Linked DNA regions of Homo sapiens: region 1 is linked to region 2. Evidence: promoter capture Hi-C in human tissues and cell types (Jung and others, 2019). All regions are on one chromosome and are shown on one strand. Each heading gives the region's core, a stretch centred on a gene start or on the middle of the fragment in contact. The rest is flanking DNA. Distances are from core to core; before and after follow the strand shown. Region 1 has its middle 25 kb from the start of MAPK1IP1L. Region 2 holds the start of LGALS3 (galectin 3).

Region 1 (3,404 bases), core at 720-3,219, 52 kb before region 2:
TTTTTTTTTTTTTTTTTTTTGAGATAGAGTCTTGCCCTGTCGCCCAGGCTGGAGTGCTGTGGCACAATCACGGCTTACTGCAGGCTTGACCTCCCCTCAAGCAATCCTCCCACCTCAGCCTCTCTGGTACCTGGGACTACAGGCATGCACCACTAGGCCCAGCTGATTTTTTTTGTAGAGATGGGTTTTCAGCATGTGGCCCAGGCTGGTCTCAAACTCCTGGGCTCAAGCAATCCACCCACCTCGGCCTCCCAAAGTGCTGGGATATTGCAGGCATGAGCCACCGCGCTTAGCCTGAGATTCTGGTAATATTCTATTGAGTTGAGTGGGATGGTGGCTATACATGAGTATTCATTTGACTTATTTAACTCCAAATATATGTCATTCTCTTGCATATATAATTTACATGTTTTTAAAAGCATATGGGACCTGAGAACCTAATATTGAAAGAAAACTCCAGTTTCACTCAGACTGTCTTTGAGAGAGGCAGACAAGCCTAACTTCAGTGGTGACTGATGTCTGAGGCATGTAACAGTAGCACGAGGCTGTGCCTAGCATCCATGGTTTCCTTTTATGCTGATAACTGAAAATCTCAATTACTTTAGGAAACAGGGCTGTCATTTAGAACACAAGAGCATAAAAGGGTCTTCCCAGTAGTCCACTCAGTCTAGTGTCCTGTCTGACAATGGCATCCAGAAATGTTTTTGTGAAAGAGCATAACTGGGTCATAAACCCAGCATGCCAGACCCAGCTCTGCACCAATGGGGAGGCAATTGTCAAGCATTCAATTGTGTAAAGCATTATGTTGAGCCAGTACAACAAGAATCGCAGAATAAAGATAGCCCCACAAATACGGAAGACAATAGGGATGGTATTTTTCACTGTGCTATTAGGGAGAAAAATGAGAAAAACATAATTAGAGTGAGGACAGAGGCAGCGTAGTATAGAGGTAGAGAGCAGGCTGGGCGTGGTGTCTCACGCCTGTAATCCCAGCATTTTGGGAGGCTGAGGTGGGAGGATCACTTGAGGTCAGGAGTTTGAGACCAGCCTGGCCAACGTGGTGAAACCTCATCTCTACTAAAAATACAAAAATTAGCTGGGCGTGGTGGTGCGTGCCTGTAGCGCCAGCTACTTGGGAGGCTGAGACAGAAGAATTGCTTGAACCTGGGAGGCGGAGGTTGCAGTGAGCCGAGATAGTGCTACTGCACTCCAGCCTGGGCGACACAGCGAGACTCCATCTCAAAAAAAAAAAAAAAAAAAAAAACAAAAGAAAACAAACAAACAAACAAAAACAGAGGTAAAGAGCACAGGTTCTGGAACCTGGCCAGCTGTGTTTAAATCGTGACTCCACTGCTTACTACATAGATCACACTGGCTGAATTACTTAACCTTGTAGTGCCTTTGCTTATTCAGCTATAAAATGAGGGCCGGGCGTGGTGGCTCACGCCTGTAATCCCAGCACTTTGGGAGGCCGAGGCGGGCGGATCACCTGAGGTTAGGAGTTTGAGACCAGTCTGGCCAACGGGGTTTCAACCCCATCTCTGCTAAAAAATATAAAAATTAGCTAGGCGTGGTGGTGGGCACCTGTAATCCCAGCTACTCGGGAGGCTGAGGCGGGAGAATCACTTAAACCCAGGAGGTGGAGGTTGCAGTGAGCCACGATCACGCCATTGCACTCCAGCCTGGGCAACAAAAATGAAACTCCACACAAAAAAATAAAAAATAAAATAAAATGAGGATTACACTCATGCCTAACTCCACAGGGTTACGAGAATTAAATGAAGTCATCCATGTGAAGCAGTTGGCACCTGACATCAGATGTGAGCTTATCATGGGAGCTGAAAGGCATTTTTCTAGGTATTGGGCCTACAAGAGTGTTACAGTTTAGCAGAAGAAACAGAAAAATAGGCAGGTGTGATGTTACTGATGCAGGAGGCACGGATTGCTCTGAGTACACCCGAGGAGCACCTAATAGTGAAACAGCTACCATTTGTTGAACACTAGTGATGTCTCAGACAGTCACCCACATGCTTTGTTTTCTGTTTTCTCCCTTAGCAATGCCCTATAAGCCCCGCCCCTTACCCAAGGCCTTTACTCACACTCACTGTGTCCTCACAACAACATAAGCAAGGGGTAAAAATTCACAGCCTGTGGAGTGCAGAGCCATGCTCTTTCCCCTTTATCACGCAGGGCACCATTAATATTTTAAGGCACTTCAGAAAAAGACCTGTCTCGGAGAAAGAGAGTCCAAAAGAACATCTGTCTCCTCACCTCACGCTACTTTGCACCTGGCCATATTTCCAAATCAATTCCACACCCTGTTTGAAAGCAGCTCACCTTGGGGATGGATTAGAAAAATCGCAAGCCCCAGGCCTGGGTATGTGAGTGAGTTTCGGCAACAGATGAAGGGCAGGCAGGCGCCCCGTCTGGGGAGGAAGTCCAGTGTCACAATTGTACCTCTGAGTAGCTGTGTTCCCAACATTCCAGAGAACAGCTCCACCCTGGAACAGCTTTCATGAGTTATCCGCACTGACGTCAGCCACATACCTGTGAACACGACTTGCTTCTTGGCTGCCCACAGCTGCACTATTCCTTCTTGCTGGGTTTTGGGAGTACACATGAGCTATTCATTACAGAGTTTCAGGCCCACTAGCAACTCTGAATACCTCATATTCTAAAAGAGCACGGCTTTTCCCAGCTCATTTGGGATTACATGAGAGATTAGCCTGTGTCCACGAAGGCCAACAACTACTCTGACTGGGGAATCGGCAAGAGAAGGCTTCCTGGAATGAGTCTCGAGGGATTTGAGCTTTGGACAAAGGAGTTGATAAGATTTTGTCCTAGGACAAAGAAAGATAGAACAGGCCTAAGATAAATGAGCAAAGATATTTTAGCACCTAGGTTTTAGTCGTTCAACTTACTGGTATGTATGTATTTATTACTTATTTTTATTTATTTTTTTGAGACGGAGTCTCACTTTGTCACCCAGGCTGGAGTGCAGTGGCACAAGCTTAGCTCATTGCAACCTTTGCCTCCCGGATTCAAGCAATTCTCCTGCCTCAGCCTCCCGAGTAGCTGGGATTACACAGGCACCTGCCACCACACCTGGCTAATTTTTGTATTTGTAGTAGAGATGGGGTTTCACTCCATGTTGGCCAGGCTGGTCTCAAACCCCTGACCTCAGGTGATCTGCCCGCCTCAGCCTCCCAAAGTGTTGGGATTACAGGTGGGAGCCACTGCGCCTGGCCTATTTATTTTTTATTTATTTATTTTATTTTATTAGATGGAGTCTCGCTCTGTCGCCAGGCTGGAGTGCAGTGGTGCAATCTCAGCTCACTGCAACCTCCACCTCCCGGGTTCAAGCAGTTCTCCTGCCTCAGCCTCCTGAGTAGCTGGGACTACAG
Region 2 (3,595 bases), core at 726-3,225:
GATTTTATTGGGTTCCTTTTTACGCTTATCTTAGAAAAGGGATGTGACTTTGGATTGGGTAATAAAGAGCCGTTTATTGCATGTGTACAAATTATAAATTCCCAGGCACACCCTGATCATAGCAGGATCCTTTTGTTAGCTTTATGGGGCATGAAGTTGGCACCAAAGTATTCATGGGGATGTACAAGTAAGGAAGGGAAGCCAAAAGCATGTCTGATCATACAATCAGGTGTAAGCAAGCCCCCTAAGTAGCCAGGGCATGAACTTTGTCTATCTCTGAAATGACCAGAAGAAAAGGCAAGAGTGTGATTCATCCCTTGCCTCCACAGCAATTCATTTGGCTATCTACTTTTCTTATTACCAATGGCTAACCCTCTAAGGGTACCACTCCTGGCCATGAGGCCTCATGACTCAAAGTCTTAAGATTTATAGCATTTTCCCTGGAGACCAAGGGCATTCCTTTGGGTGATACCTTTTTACTACCCAGAGGTTAGTCATTTACTATGGGTGATCCATTCAAATAAATTGGTTGCCAGGCTACCTCTTCAGATAAGAGTTCAAACTTGCATAAATAATCCCCAGCCACACTGTGACTTCTATGTGCAAGCCTAGAGGGGACGATGTTGCAGGAACCGTGCCAACCACTAAGACACTTTCAAGTTTATCCTAGAGAATGCCAAGACAGCTTCTCAATTCCATCAAGTGAGTCCTTCACAGGAACATTTCCCTAAGTTGAAAAACTGCAGGAAATAATTTATCTTTATGTTATTAATTGGTTACTATAAGGGCTACAGGAATTATTTAGGAACCAGATGATACCTGGTTTTCTCCATAGTTTACATAAGCCAGTCCCTGCAAAGATTCTTCCCCTACCCCCCTTAATTTTTTTTTTTTTCCTCAGAGATCCTTGTTCCAACCTGCAAGGATTCTTTGGCCTGGTGCTTTTCCAGGTAAAGTGTAAGAGCCAGGATTTCTGGATTTTGTTCCTAGACATGAGTGAGCTTGGATAAGTAAATCATTTTCTCTTTTAGTCTGTTTGGGCTTCTGTAACAAAATATCATAAACTGGGTAGCTTATAGGCAATATACATTTATTTCCCACAGTTCTGAAGGTCGGGAAATCCAAGATCCAGGCCAGCAGATTTGATGTCTGGTGAGGGCCTGCTTTCTGGTTCACAGAGGGAGCCTTCTGGCTGTGTCTTCACAAGGTGGAAGTGGCAAGGGGTCTCTCTCCGGCCTCTTTTATTAGGGCACCAATCTCATTCATAAGGACCCTGCCCCTATGACCTAATCACTTCCCAAGGCCTCCACTTCCTAATACATCACCGTGAGGGTTAGGATTTCAACATATGAACTTTGGCGGGATATAAACATTCAGACTATAGCACCCTGACAGTAAAAATGAGATAATAATACTTATCTCTTTCTTCCAACAAAAAGATAAGGTGAAGTTAAAAGGAGGGTATATATATATATAATGTGAATTTCCTGTGTAAAATGTGTTAAAGAGTTGTCTGATTAATTGCTTTATAAGGGAATTGCTTTGAGACTAGGCCTATTGATCTAGAATAAGTAGTCAATTTGTAGTCAGTTCCCTAGGGAATAGACATTGAAAAGATTTTTGGTTTTGTATTCTACAAATAAAGCAACCTATTAATTGAATTCCTCTCAGCGAATTCTTCACTCAGGTGATTCTGGAGAGGGCGGGGGACAGACGCGGCCGCAGCCCAGGTCCCGGGAGCGCCACGGAACCTAACGGTGGCAGCGGAGGTCGCGCCCCTCAGTGCCCGCGCTCTCCCCGTCGGGAGCTTCCTGGTCGCCCCTGCGGCGGCGGCTCGGGGTGTCTGGCCGGCGCGGGGCTCGCCCAGCCTGGTCCGGGGAGAGGACTGGCTGGGCAGGGGCGCCGCCCCGCCTCGGGAGAGGCGGGCCGGGCGGGGCTGGGAGTATTTGAGGCTCGGAGCCACCGCCCCGCCGGCGCCCGCAGCACCTCCTCGCCAGCAGCCGTCCGGAGCCAGCCAACGAGCGGTGAGCTGCGCGGGGCGCGGGGGACGCGGCTCCGGCCGGGCAGGGGAGAGGGCGCCCGGGCGCTGCTTGGGGCGCGGTCCGGAGAGGGTTCGGCTCCCCGGGACCGGGCCGGGGCGCGCGCGGAGAGCCCCACAGCCTGTGCTCTGCCCTCCAGGAGCGGGGCGGCGGGCAGCGATCTGGGCCCGGGGCAGTCGCCTTTGATTATCGAGGGCGCTGGCGTTCGGGGAAGGTTGGCAGCACCTTACGAGACCCACACACGTCCCCGGGGCGGCACGGGCCACCTTCTGCGGAGCCTCGTGGGCTTCGCCGCCGTCGCACCTCCGCCGCCTGCGCTCTGCGGCCCCAGAGTAAGCCCCATCCGGTGACGAGCCGCAGTCTGGTCACCCCAGTCCCACCAGGTCCCGCTGCGAGGGGAGGCGGAGGGGCTCGCTCAGCAAACCAGACGGCCGCTCCAGTTTCTCTAATTGGGGTTGGAGCCCCGTCACCCTTCCCCAGATCACGGCCGCGGGGGAGCGAAGGGACTTCCCAGGACTGCATAGGGCGCCTCCCGGGACCCACAGCTTGGCTGGCCCGGCCCCTTTTGAGCATCAGCTGAGGCTGGACTTGGAGGAGATCTCGCTGTGGAGCGCGAATGAGTTCTTCCACCGGGACCAGCTGCGGCCGGGCTGCAGCCGCTGTCTGGTTGCTGATCCCACAGAAAATGGTGCTTGCCCCATGGCCTGAGTGGGCATGACCCGGCTTTGCAAAGACTGCAAACTCTAAGCTTTTCCGAATCAAATGCCCCTCCCTGCCCAGACTGTCTGTGCCCAGGAAATGGTGGGTGTGGCAAAATGTTGGTCCTAGCGTGCAGAGCCCTACCGGGGGGCTTTCACAACATGTTTGAGAGTTTATTCTGAATTATCGGGTGCTCAAATAGAAACACTAAAACGATTGCCCTCTGAGCAGTAGGCGTTCAGGTCCAGGGAGTCGGGGACGCATGGTGGAGGCTGGGACTTAGGTTTCAGCCTTACCCTTCAAGTTCGCCATGCGGGTTCCAGAGACTGCGGAATGTTTGTAAAGTGACTCTGGGAATTGGGTTGCTGCGCAATGAGGACACCTGGACCTCAGTGACTCAGGCTGTCTCTAGGATTCTGGGGAAGAAATGGGAGAAGGCTCAGTTAATTCTGAAGAAAATGAGACTGATACAATTAACTACTTGGGCACAGGGCCTGAGAAGAAAAAGCTTTCGTCAGCTTCCAAAGTTCTGATTTGTTTACCTAAGGTTTTTTTTTTTTTTGAGACGCAGTTTCGCTCTTGTTGCCCAGGCTGGAGTGCAACGGCACTATCTCGGCTCACCGCAACCTCTGCCTACCGGGTTCAAGCGATTCTCCTGCCTCAGCCTCCCGAGTAGCTGGGATTACAGGCATGCGCCACCATGCCCGGCTAATTTTGTATTTTTCGTGGTGGTGGTGGTGGGGGGGGGGGGGTCCCTCCATGTTGGTCAGGCTGGTCTCGAACCCCCGACCTCAGGTGACCCGCCTGCCTCGGCCTCCTAAAGTGCTGGGATTATAGGCGTGGGCCACTGCGCCTGG

Evidence for each region. Contacts are between HindIII fragments. The study calls those that stand out against the background at their distance.
Region 1: a fragment that was not itself captured here is called in contact with the fragment with the promoter of LGALS3 in region 2 in 2 of the 25 tissues and cell types used here (adrenal gland and small bowel).

The regions. Positions count from the first base shown.
Region 1 is chr14:55,075,307-55,078,710 of GRCh38, forward strand. No RefSeq gene overlaps it. Among named protein-coding and RNA genes, the nearest start is that of MAPK1IP1L, 25 kb to the left of the region's middle. RefSeq lists enhancers at 1,959-3,158, 2,077-2,576, 2,599-3,100, 3,101-3,404. The HindIII fragment of the contact is 3,721 bases long and covers 110-3,404 here.
Region 2 is chr14:55,127,277-55,130,871 of GRCh38, forward strand. It overlaps LGALS3 (galectin 3), which reads left to right and starts at 1,976. Exons shown (of 6, transcript NM_002306.4): 1 at 1,976-2,024. RefSeq lists a silencer at 1,672-2,271 and an enhancer at 2,622-2,811. The HindIII fragment of the contact is 8,667 bases long and covers 1-3,016 here.